Regions from separate parts of the Homo sapiens genome. Here regions 1 and 2 are each linked to region 3. The links are contacts of gene promoters, found by promoter capture Hi-C in human tissues and cell types (Jung and others, 2019). All regions are on one chromosome and are shown on one strand. Each heading gives the region's core, a stretch centred on a gene start or on the middle of the fragment in contact. The rest is flanking DNA. Distances are from core to core; before and after follow the strand shown.

Region 1 (4,108 bases), core at 123-2,622, 630 kb before region 3:
GACTTTGAGATAATGCATTTCTGTTGTTTAAGCCACTCAGTTTGTGGTATTTTGTTATAGGAGCCCTAGAAAATGAATACAAACTTCCTTTCTTATTTTATTTGCCTCCAGTTTCCCCTCGAATGACCCCCTGCAGACTGAGTAAGCTATCTGAAAGGTACATGTAACCCTGACAGTCCCCAAATTAAAAACCGCTCATTCCCTCACCTCTCAATCCCCAGATTACGAGTCTGGTTTACAAAGCTCTTGCCTCACTCAATTCATGCTTTTCTCTCCAGCAGTGATGAACTGCTGGGCTCTGACTAAACACTTGATGTTATTTCAAGCTGTTGACCTTTGCTCATTTCCCAACCCTAACACCCACTTATACTCCTACCTTTTTTCCCCATCTTTTAAAATTCAGTGCACACATTCCTTCTACCAGAAAACCTCCCCCTGATATTCCCACACCCTGTGTCCTACCCTACCAACACCCCCTCCACCAGCACCAGCTTCCTGGATGGGGTAGGTGACCTTTCTCTGATTGCTATGCATTCTCTGCATAATTGACTTATGATAGTTCCTGCAGTTTAGTAAAATGATCTCCACATCTGTTTGCCTCACTAAGTTGTGAATTCCTAGGTGCTCTGTAATTGTGTGTGTGTGTGTGTGTGTATATGTGTATGTACTCATAAATAGGTATATTTAAATAAGATCACTTCTCAAAGGATTGGTAGGGGGCGGTAGAGGAGGTAAGCAGCTATGGAGTGGAGTGAATTATGGATAGGTGGGTATGACTATCCCACATTAGGAGGCTCATTATCTCCAAAGCTTCTTTCATCTGCCTTACTCTTTTACACACAGAGAAGCCAGAGTCGGGGGCTGGGGAGGTATAAAAAGAAAATTTCCCCTACCCCTACCCATCAAGCCCCACCACAATCCCTTGGAAAGAATGCCAGACTGGCCCACGCCAACAAGTCATCCCATACGAAATGGCCCAGTGCCCGCCATCTAATGTACTGAATGCCGTGGGAGCTCCAAAGTCATGCAGCCTTTTGGGGGAAGGGGGTAGGGGCCGCGCGGGAGGCACACAAAATAAAGAAATACGTTCAACGCTAATGCCTGAATTCCCTGACATGTTTCCCACGGCAGCTGAACTCTCCCCCACTCCTGCCCCAAAGGCATTCAGGCCCTCCACTCTCCCCTCCGTCTGCTGTAAAAGCCCCGGGTCCTTTCTTCAGACCCTTTCTTACCCTCTGGCCTCCTACCTGTCTGGATCAGAAGAAGGTAGACAAAAGGAGCAAGGCGCAGGGCCCTGGAGGCTCTGGACAGGGCTCCCCTTTCTCTCTTCATTTTGGGTGGCGTTCTCCAGCTCTAGTGCAGACAATTAGCATGATTTCTCCACTCTGGGCACGTCCCCTTTGTACCACTCGGAGTTTCTCTGCCCGAACACAACCCTGCCAACTTCCCTCTGAATACACAGAGCTCTGTGTATTGCTGGACTTGTTCTTTCCTCTCCCTCAGACCTGGCATTTTCTAGTTTCCAAGCCCTACATCCCCAGTTTGGAAGCAGGTATCTGCTTAGGAGATAATCTCCAACTCAGGTTCCAACATGGGGGGCACCGGCAGCCCAGCAGTTGGTTGCTTGTCTGTGCTGAGCCTCACTACCCAGGGAGATGAGGATCTGGGCTCAGAGCACTGAGCTGGGACACACACTTAACTGGACTTTGTGTCCCAACCTACCCTGTCTCCACCTAACACTCCTTCTCCCTGAGGAGGAGGGTACATGCCAGGACAGACCTCCAATAAGCTCTGAAAAGGGAGGGAGAAGAGATTTTAAAAAGCTGGGAAGTGAAAGACTCCAGACAACTGCTGAAGAAATGGAAAACCCCTGTTCCATCCCAAAGGAAGAAGACTGGAAAACAGCTTGAATTCTATTATTGTTACACTTGTCTTTCCGTGGCTTGGAATTTTCTCTTCTATCATAGAATCACATAGATGCTGGACACCTCTTTCCAGAAGCCACTCTGTTCATTCCCCTGCTTTCAGGCAATTTTCTAGAACATGTCTGAGCAAAATGAAGGTCATCTCCTAACAGCCAGCATCCTAGGGTTCTGTTACCAGCTTAACAGCCTAGCTGTGCCCTCCTGTTTTGAGGCTGTGAAGAGGAGAAACACTCTAGCTCTACTCTGACCCCCATTCATGTGTTCACACCTTTTCATGAGGGCGGCCAAGGGAATGGATGCCTAGTAACTGTGATCTTGGGATGGGCTCGCAACCTCTTTGAGCCTTCAATTTCTCATCTGTAAAATGGGGAAAAGAAGAGCTTCCTTGAGGGGAATTGTTGGGAGCGTTGATGGAGATTTGGTACAGAAGAGTACCTAGCAAATCCTTTGTTACAGAGATGATGTTTTAAACTTTTTAAAAATTGCCTTGTTTCTTTTTTCATTCATGCTGGGATCTTTATATTTTTGGGAGACCAAACTTCACAACTTCCTTCTTGGTCATCCCTAACCCCTGGTCTTGGTTTTGTAAGTGCAGCAATTATCTCTCTAAATATTCTTTTTACATACTGGAGAAAGCCTGAGTAGGTCAACTTTCTAGAACTGAAGCATTATTACATAGCCCTTCTGAGCCTCGGCAGAGGGAGAAGAGTTGGGAAGCACTGAACTTCACAGACCTCTCTGAAAACATTCTGAAATATATAAAGGGGATTCTTTTTTCCTTTTGCATTTCTGTGTTTATGACTTTTCCCTAGACAACTCAAGGCACCTTTCTTCCACTGGAAGAGGTAATGTTATTATAGCAGGTACACAAAAAGAGTCAATATTCAGCTTCTGACATTTAAAATAGCATTTCAAAGTCCATAGCAAGATGAAAGGCTTAGCCAGTCTTTGTAAGGGACAAAAGAGCATTCTAATTTCTTTTATCTACCCCTTGACATATCATAGATCAGCCTGTGGACTGGATCACAGAGTCCTTCTGGAGTGTAGATAAATGGCCTCTTTGCCTGTGATGGCTGGGCCTTGAGGCTTATGGATGGGAGTAAAAGGAGGATGCAGTGTTTGGGAAATAGAAAGCCCGAAGTCTGCCCTTGTTATCCTGAAGCACTGTGGAAAGAAAAATGTGCTAGAGGGAGACTAAAAGGATCTAAGTTCTCAATATCCCCACTTCCCCGCCCCAGAGGTGGCTCTTTATACCTGCACAGAATTTGCAAGGGCTTCTAGGTGTCCAGAAGCCCTTTAGGAGACTCAGAAGTGCCGAGAGGGTAAAGAACTGGCAGGAAACAGAAGATTGAGCAAAGGCACTGCCATGTACGGGGATTCTGAGGCCAGAGGCAACAGCTGGGACCACCTACTGCTGTGGTGGGAGCCTCAGGTAGCTCATCAGGCCAGGAAAAAATGTAGACCCTGAGTAGAGACTGGTGGGAAACCTGAGAATACCACACAGGTCCACAGACACTGTCTCCCCCTGTTGCCACAAGGTTACTTCAGCCACACCATGTATATTTACCCCAACTCTTATTAGAGAGGAGCTGGGATTGGGAGAGGACATTGGAAAGACTGCTTGAGCAATTGCCTGAGCTGTCCAAGCAGAGACTGAGCTACCTAAAGACAGTGTGAAAATGGTTGGATCAGACTGGGCTTACTGAGATGGAGTGATATTTTCCTCTGCTACCCTGGGGGCGGTGAGAGGTTCATGTGGAAGATCACAGCAACTACAAAGACATAAAGGCCTTCCCTTTCCTTTGTACGTTGGAATGTATGAGGAGTAATTTTGCAATCTTGCTTCCAGCGACTGAGTAGGCCTTTAGAAACTTATAATCATCTACTTATGTGCCTTTCTCTCCTAAGAAACAGAGAGCTCTTTGATTTAAGAGCTGTCTTATTTGTCTCTCTGTCTATAGTACCGAATACGGGGCAGGCACATAGTAGGTGCTCAATAGGCAGTTGGCAAATATTGAATGGATAAGCCCTTGCCTTAGTTCCTTTAGAGGGCTTCTCAAGCAGCTGGACAACTGGGGGTTGGGGGAGCAAGCAAGGGAGTGAGGCCACAGTTTGTGGACACATATGAGGCATCCCTTGGGAATTCCCAGAAATAACCGGGGCTCACTTTGAGTGGGGACACT
Region 2 (4,306 bases), core at 201-2,700, 680 kb after region 3:
CCCAGCACTTTGGGAAGCTGAGGCGGGAGGATCACTTGAGCCTAGTTCAAGACCAACCTGGGCATCATAGCAAGACCCCATCTCTACAAAAAGTTTAAAAATTAGCCGGGCATGGTGGTGTTTGCCTGTGGTCCCAGCTACTTGGGAGGCTGAAGCAGGACGATCGATTGAGCTGAGGCAGTCGAGGCTACAGTGAGTTGTGATCACACTGTTGCACTCCAGCCTGGGTGACAGCATAAGATCATGTCTCTAAATAAATAGGCTGGGCACAGTGGTTCACGTCTGTAATCCCAGCATTTTGGGTGGCCGAGGTGGGTGGATCACTTGAGGTCAGGATTTTGAGACCAGCCTGTCCAACATGGTGAAACCCCGTCTTTACTAAGAATACAAAAACTAGCTGGGAGTGGTGGTGCACGCCTGTAATCCCAGTTACTTGGGAGGCTGAGGCAGGAGAATCATTTGAACCCAGGAGGCAGAGGTTTCAGTGAGCCAAGATTGCGCCACTGTGCTCCAATCTGGGCAACAGACCAAGACTCTGTCTAAAAACAAACAAACAAATGATTGAAATTTTAAAACTAGCAGCTTCTATGCTATTTGTGATAAAATTTCCAAAGATTATGACCAAGTGTGTTCATGGATATCAGAAGCATAAGGACCTTTTAAAAGCTGAGGATATCTATCACATTTGATGTTTTCCTTCTCATTTCATCCTTGGGCCTCAAGATTTGCATTGTATTTTCAGCCCACATTAGGGGCAGTGTTGCAGTCTAATGGTTAAAGACATTGACTGGTAGTCAGAATGGGGCCTAGTAACATTCAAATTCTAAATCTCGGTGCCTCTTGACTACTTTCCTGATTCATAGCCTATTTCTCCAAAATGTGATAAGAATAAATGTATGCTGTCTCCAGTCCTTGGGAAAATGGAGCCATGGAATCAGGTGGCTATTGCATTCGCTGTTGTCTAAATGATTGTTCTTCGCTGGCAGCCTTTTAGGTTCCTCAGAGGTGACTGAAGTGATTTTTCTATCACTTATCTATTGCTGTACAAGTAATGGCCGTGAAACTTTGTGGCTTGTAACAACAAATATCTTATCTGCCCATGATAAAGTATATTAACAATTTGAACTGGGCTCAGTGACTCAGCCAGGCATTTTTTCTGCTGATTTTTGCACCCTCTTCACATACCTGCAGACATCTGATGGCCGCACCAGGGCTGAGTGATATAAGGGGACCATACTTCCCTGCAAGCAATTGGCCAGGCCATATATGTCCCAGCAGGCTAGCCCAGGCTTCTTCACTTTCTTCGCATGGCAGCTGGATTCCAAAAGTAACACAAGAGAAGTAAGACTTCTTGTGCCAACACTTTTCAAGCTTCTGCTTGTGTGTGTTTGCTAGTATCCCATTGGCTAAAAGCAAGCCATGTGGTTAGCCTGGAGTCACTCCGAAGAGGGGCCACACAAGGGCCTGGATACAGAGGCTTGATTTCTTGGGGCGATCACTGAAGCAGTTGTCCATAGCTCTCATGCATGCCACCAGTGCAAAGGGTCCCTGTTGTTTCTGCAAATTATGACAAATTGTGATTTTTGATGCTTACTTTCAAAGAGAAATCACCAAATTTGTTGCCATCATTCTTGACAGTCATTCCTGAAGTGGAAACTTAGACCACATCAGGTTTTGCATTCTTGTCCTATATCATGAAGCTAGAGAGTTTATGTCAGAAGTCTAGTCCTCAAAACAGCCTCTTGCCCATTGTGACCTTTAAACAGGTGCTCAGCCCTGCCAAGCTGGTTGGGCTATATGTGTGTTGTGCAGGTCCTCGAGTGGGCTCAGGAGAAGCGTAAGCTGAGCGTGTTGCATATTCACGGAGTCTACACCAACCCTAGTGGCATTGTCCTTCATCCGGCTGGATATCAGAACGTGCTCAGGAACACTGAAGTCATGGTGAGTGGGGCTGATCTTGCTGGTCTCAGGAACTCCTTCCTGGGAAATCTCTCTAAATATGCCATAGATCTTAAAGGGGAACATCTTCTTTTCATTAAGTGAAAACGGAAGGTCAGGGGCTAGGAGCAGTGGCTCATGCCTATAATCCCAACACTTTGGGAGGCCAAGGGGAGAGGATCACCTGAGGCCAGGAGTTCGAGACCAGCCTGGGCAACATAGCGAGACTCTTGTCTTTACAAAAATAAAATTAGCTAGGCATCATGGTGCATGCTGTCCCAGCTACTTGGGAGGCTGAGGCAGGAAGATTAGTTGAGACTAGGAATATAAGGCTGTAGTGAGCTGTGTCTAGAGCCACTGCACTCCAGCTTGGGTGACAGAGCAAGGCCCTATCTCTAAAAAAAGAAAGAAACTGGAAAGTCAGACGTTCTTCCTGTGCTTCTTAACTTATGGGTGTGCATGCTGTCTAGGAAATGTAGAATTTCTCTTAAGGTGTCAAACCCTATGATCTTTGTTTGTACTTAATTGACAACCAGCAGATGGCATGTCATCATTGGCATCATCTTCACATACAAAGGATACATTAGTACCCTTTATCATCATTTGGTTTATTAATAGCCCTCTCTGTGTCAGAAATAATTGAGGCAGCTTCTTAACAAACCAACCACTACTAGAGAATACATTCTAAAGAGACTTTGTATAAATGGCAATGGGCTTATATTGAATTAACCACATTTATTCACACTTACTCTTTGTGAAAAGCTTATTGATCTTTTGGGATGCACATTTTCGACTTGTTCAGATAAACATGTTCAAACCAGAAGTATTCGCTGCCCCCAGCTCTAAGAATCTTGTTTGCTGTTTTCAGGACTGGGTCATATAGATTATAGCATCTTTTAATAATGAGGCAAAAGACCGAGAAAATGTATTGTCTAAAGCACAAGGGACTTTTTTTTCTTTTTACCCATTCTTTCCCAACATCTGCCATAACTGCATCCATCTCTGACATTGAGTGATCCCTTAGGCAGTCATTTCTGTGTTTTTGTGTGTGTATATGTATACACACACACACACATACTGATGTTCTAAGTATCAAACGCCTTTCCTTGAGCAAATCCGATGATGGAATTATCTTCTCTGGTGATTCACAGTTCAGTTTGTGAGACAAAGGCAAATATGGTCCAGAAATGGAAGGATTAAGATATATGAAGACCTACTCTTTGCACAATGACCTCTGGGCACATAAATCTAAAAAAGTACGCCTGTAATCCCAACACTTTGGGAGGCTGAGGCAGGCAGATCACATGAGGTCAGGAGTTCCAGACCAGCCTGGCCAACATGGTGAAACCCTGTCTCTACTAAAAATAGGAAAATTAGCTGGGCGTGCTGGCAGGTGCCTGTAATGCCAGCTACTTGGGAGTCTGAGGCAGGAGAATCGCTTGAACCTGGGAGGCAGAGGAGGTTGCAGTGAGCCAAGACCATGCCACTGCACTCCAGCCTAGGTGGCAGAGCAAGACTCTGTCTCAAAAATAAAATAAAAATAAAAAAGTAAACTACTGGCCAAGTGCAGTGGCTCACGCCTGTAATCCCAGCACTTTGGGAGGCCAAGGTGGGTGGATCACTCGAGGTCGGGAGTACCAGACCAGCCTGGCCAACATGGCAAAACCCCGTCTCTACTAAACATTCAAAAATTAGCTGGGTGTGGTGGTGCACACTTGTAATATACTCGGGAGGCTGAGGCATGAGAGTCACTTGAACCAGGGTGGTGGAGGTTGCAGTAAGCCGAGGTCACACCACTACACTCTAGCCCAGGTGAAAGAGTGAGACTCCGTCTCAAAAAATATATAAAGCATAAAAAATAAAGAAGTAAACTACTGCACCAGTACACTGACACCAGCTCTATGAAACGCTGATTAGAGAGCCTACAGAAGAATGGCAGGTAAAGATAAAATTTTAGACCAATCATCAAGTTACAGCAATAAGCAAGAGATCACACTCCTTGATGGGACATACCAACCCACTTAAGTCTTGCTTAATTGGTCATCACAGTCTGCTCAACGTAGCATGACCTTCTTGTTTCAGACTTGCCTTGAGTGTGTCTTCACAATGTCAATATGTTGTATCTTTTCCTTCCAGAGAGAAATTCAGAAACTCTACGAAAACAAGTCATTTCTTTTCCTGGGCTGTGGCTGGACTGTGGATGACACCACTTTCCAGGCCCTTTTCTTGGAGGCTGTCAAGCATAAATCTGACCTAGAACATTTCATGCTGGTTCGGAGAGGAGACGTAGATGAGTTCAAAAAGCTTCGAGAAAACATGCTGGACAAGGGGATTAAAGTCATCTCCTATGGAGATGACTATGCCGATC
Region 3 (3,914 bases), core at 137-2,636:
TGGCTAACACGGTGAAACCCCGTCTCTACTAAAAATACAAAAAAATTAGCCATGCTTGGTGGCAGGTGCCTGTAGTCCCAGCTACTCAGGAGGCTGAGGCAGGAGAATGGCGTGAACCCAGGGGGCGGAGCTTGCAGTGAGCCGAGATCGCACCACTGCACTCCAGCCTGGGAGACAAAGACAGACTCAGTCTCAAAAAAAAAAAAAAAAAAAGATTTCCTCCCATGAAGTAAGCCAGAATAAACTCATACCTACTAAATTCTTTCTAAAATCTTTTCTAAATTGACACTCTTGAGAAAGAATAGAGCTTGGAGGAAGAGCTATTATTATAATTAATAGCACAATAATCAGTTTGTCATTAAACCACTTAGGTCTCTTTGTAACAAGATTTCTAAGCTTTAGTAGATGGATTCCTTATTCTATTCTATTTTATATTGTTTTGTTTTGTTTTATTTTATTTTATTTTTCGAGACAGTCTAGCTGTGTCACCCAGGCTGAAGTGCAGTAGTGCGATCTCGGCTCACCGCAACCTCTGCCTCCTGAATTGAAGTGATTCTCATTCCTTAGCCGACCAAGTAGCTGGGACCACAGGTGTGTGCCACCATGCCCAGCTAATTTTTTGTATTTTTAGTAGAGACGGGATTTCACCATCTTGGCCAGGGTGGCCTCAAGTGATCTGCCCGCCTCAGCTTCCCAAAGTGCTGAGGTTACACGCATGAGCCACCGTGCCCAGCCACTTATTTTATTTCATTTTTTAAATTTATTATTATTATTATTATTTTGAGACTGAGTCTTGCTCAGTCGCCCAGGCAGGAGTGCAGTGGTGTGATCTCGGCTCACTGCAACCTTCATCCCCTGAGTTCAAGTAATTCTCCTGCCTCAGCCTCCTGAGTAGCTGGGACCACAGGCAGGTACCACCACACCTGGCTAATTTTTGTTATTTTAGTAGAGATGGGGTTTCGCTATGTTGGCCAGGCTGGTCTTGAACTCCTGACCTCGTGATCTGCCTGCCTTGGCCTCCCAAAATGCTGGGATTAAAGGCATCCTGTTACTAATTTCACAGGATTTTAGAAACGCAAGCAGCGTTGTGGAGTCAATGGGGGAGGGCAAAGAACAGGAGGAGAGATCTGTGAGAACGGGATCGGCGAGGAGGCGACGGGGAGGAGGCGACGCGGAGGGGTGAGGGGTCCTCTCCGCCGCCAGGCGGAGTTGGGAGCCGGACGATCCCGCACGCAGCGCGAGGCGGGACCCCGGACTGACTACATTTCCCAGTCTCCGTCGCTCCGCGCGGCCCACCCCTTCGGCTCTGGGCCCCGCCTCGTGGTGCCGGCTGGTTCTTCGCGCTCGCCCGACTTCCCAGCGGCCCCGTGCGGCCCGGGCATGCCCAGTGCGGGCGCAGCGGCCCCGGCCCTGGAAGCGCCCCGGCGGAGCTGGCCTGCGGTGGGCTAGGGGCAGGGCCGGAGCCGCGGCGGCGGAGCTGTGGGTAGGTGCGGGCTCAGCCGAGCTAGGCCTCGGGGCCGCCGCGCCGCCCATTCTGAGTGGCAGGGACCGGGAGGGCAGGCAGGGCCCGAGCGTGGGTTGGTGGGGCTACCGGCGAGGACCCCTTATGGGAAGGGGCCGGAGGGAGCGGGACGGGGCCGGGCACATCCCCGGGCGAGGCTGCCCCAGGTGCGGCGCAGCTATCTTTAGCTCCCTGTGTGACCCGGAGCGTGCGTGATCCGCACCTCGCGTGATCCGTACCTCGTGCACAGTTGTGCCTAGGGAGACCAGTTTTCTGCCGAATTGCCTAGGAGCTGTGGGGAGATGGGCCTGAATGGACCCGTGGACTCAGAGGCAGCCCGTGGAGCCCCGTGGGAAGTGAGGATGTTTACCTTCCCTGTACCTGGAGTGGGCTACGACAGCTTCCTGTTTGCCGAGACTTGGGTTTAGTGACTTAGAAATAAAAGTGTGTCTCAGCAGATGCTTATTAGCTTCTAATGACTGTTGGGAATTTAATGGCATTTGTATTTCCAGGTTTGAGAGGTTATTTGTCCATGGGATGCTCGTGTTAAAACAAAAATCTTCATTGCAAAGCTTAAGTAAAAACAAGTCTCGACCGAGGTAACGTTAGAACACCGGGTTCTGAGGTTCACTGTAGCTGCCATTCATTTGCTGTCAGTCTGGGCAAGTCATTTAACTTCTGAGACTGGGTTCTCTCACCTGTTAAATGAGCCAGATGCATCTTCATCTGTCTAGCTCAGCTGTAGGATTCCCCCTGTGTCATTCAGTCTGTGTGTGTGTTCTCAAATTGTGGCAGGTTATTTTTCCCCATGCCTCAGCTATTTGTCAGACTGGGTAATTCACCAAATATTCCTGTAGGAAGGATGTTAGGATCTAAGTATAAAAGTGAAGTGATTTATCCTTCATAGGTCACTCTTAGGAGGTGTCCTGCCACTTGGTACATGCAGAAACCAGGTGTTAGCTGGCCAGGGATCAAATGACACAGCTGTTGTGGACTGAGACAGAATGTTTCAGGTTCCCTGTCAGTTCCCTGTGAGAAATCCAGGCCAAGTAATGGGCTTCCTTAAACCTCCAAGCTGGCTCACTTTGGTGGGGTTGTGTTTATATAGAATTTTAAGTTTTTTTCATGCTGTTGTGCCCTATTAGATGCAAGAAACCTATGAAGAAGTTTAGTACCCTTAATTTATAGATGAGCCAGTGGCAGGTTACGGGAGTGGATCTGTGAGTCTTTACAAACTAGTGTCGTGCATATCACTGAGCCTTTGCTAGTTATCTAGCTCAGCTGCCCTCACCTCAACCCTGAGAACATGTCTGTATGGCTGTACCTACGCGACTGGAACTCTGAGGTGTTTGTTTTCAGGAGGAAACAGTGGGAGTATTAACAGAAGTTTCTTACCCTAGAGACTTCTATCCGAAGTGAGCCTATCTGTGTAGGATTTGACCTAAGGAGCAGAGGGTATATACAATGTTGGGCAAATTGCCTTCCTACTGCCATATCCCCTGCTCTTCCAGTTCTGAATGGCATTAGTCCAGTTGGGTCAATGAGGAGCAGTTTGGTGAAGTGGTTAAAGGTCGGGGAAAGTGTGCTTATATTTTGAAATTTAAGGTTTGTACAAGCTGCTTGTGAAATTCTGTCTTTGTATTATGGTCATACCTCTTAAACTGAGAATACTGCAACTTGATTGAGTGAGTGTTGAGAACTTTAGAATATCAGGTTCTTAAAAAATGCCTGAAAGTGGGTTTTCTATTCATCTTAGAAGTCACCACAGATTAAATGAGAGAATAGTATATTAATTACAAGTATTTCTCACATGAACTCTCAAGTTCTTAATTTTTGAAACTAGATATCCCATTCACCTGAGAAATAAAATGGGAAAGCCTTACTGTTTTAAAGACTGTTTATACATATGAACTTTTTTGAGGCCTAGTTTAAAATCCACTATTTATTGCATGTTTATTAAAATTGTATCTGTATATATTTAAAGTTAGAAAACAGAAAAGACCAGCCGGGCGTGGTGGCTCATGCCTGTAATCCTAGCACTTTGGGAGGCTGAGATGGATGGATCACCTGAGATCAGGAGTTTGAGATCAGCCTGGCCAACATGGCGAAACCCCATCTCTACTAAAAATACACAAAATTAGCTGGGCGTGGTGGCGGGTTCCTGTAATCTCAGCTACTCGGGAGGCTGAGGCAAGAGAATCACTTGAACCTGGGAGGTGGAGGTTGCAGTGAGCCGAGCCCAGTGTTGCACTCCAGCCTGGGCAACAAGAGCGAGACTCTGTCTCAAAAAATAAAATAAAATAAAAAAGACCTATTTGGAGGTTTTGGTACGCAATTTCATGTCATACCTTAAACTTTACTGTGCCCGAGGGCTCTGTATGACTGAAGCATGTATTTAGTAATTTTTGTAAGA

The links. Contacts are between HindIII fragments. The study calls those that stand out against the background at their distance.
Region 1: the fragment with the promoter of HEPACAM here is called in contact with the fragment with the promoter of EI24 in region 3 in 2 of the 25 tissues and cell types used here (aorta and dorsolateral prefrontal cortex).
Region 2: a contact is called between a fragment that was not itself captured here and the fragment with the promoter of EI24 in region 3, in 1 of the 25 tissues and cell types used here (liver).

Annotation. Positions count from the first base shown.
Region 1 is chr11:124,934,675-124,938,782 of GRCh38, forward strand. It overlaps HEPACAM (hepatic and glial cell adhesion molecule), which reads right to left and starts at 1,373. Exons shown (of 7, transcript NM_152722.5): 1 at 1,248-1,373. The coding sequence starts at 1,332. All of the region lies in intron 1 of LOC107984406 (a long non-coding RNA gene), which reads left to right. The HindIII fragment of the contact is 7,366 bases long and covers 378-4,108 here.
Region 2 is chr11:126,252,493-126,256,798 of GRCh38, forward strand. FAM118B (family with sequence similarity 118 member B) reads left to right here. Exons shown (of 9, transcript NM_024556.4): 6 at 1,813-1,941; 7 at 4,075-4,306. It also overlaps a transcript of SRPRA not described here. Among named protein-coding and RNA genes, the nearest start is that of SRPRA, 14 kb to the right of the region's middle. The HindIII fragment of the contact is 4,042 bases long and covers 1-3,471 here.
Region 3 is chr11:125,568,091-125,572,004 of GRCh38, forward strand. EI24 (EI24 autophagy associated transmembrane protein) reads left to right here and starts at 1,387. Exons shown (of 11, transcript NM_004879.5): 1 at 1,387-1,483. It overlaps STT3A-AS1 (STT3A antisense RNA 1), which reads right to left. Exons shown (of 4, transcript NR_132372.1): 3 at 2,200-2,352; 4 at 18-28. RefSeq lists enhancers at 1,051-1,552, 2,055-2,104 and a silencer at 1,055-1,614. The HindIII fragment of the contact is 7,956 bases long and covers 1-3,914 here.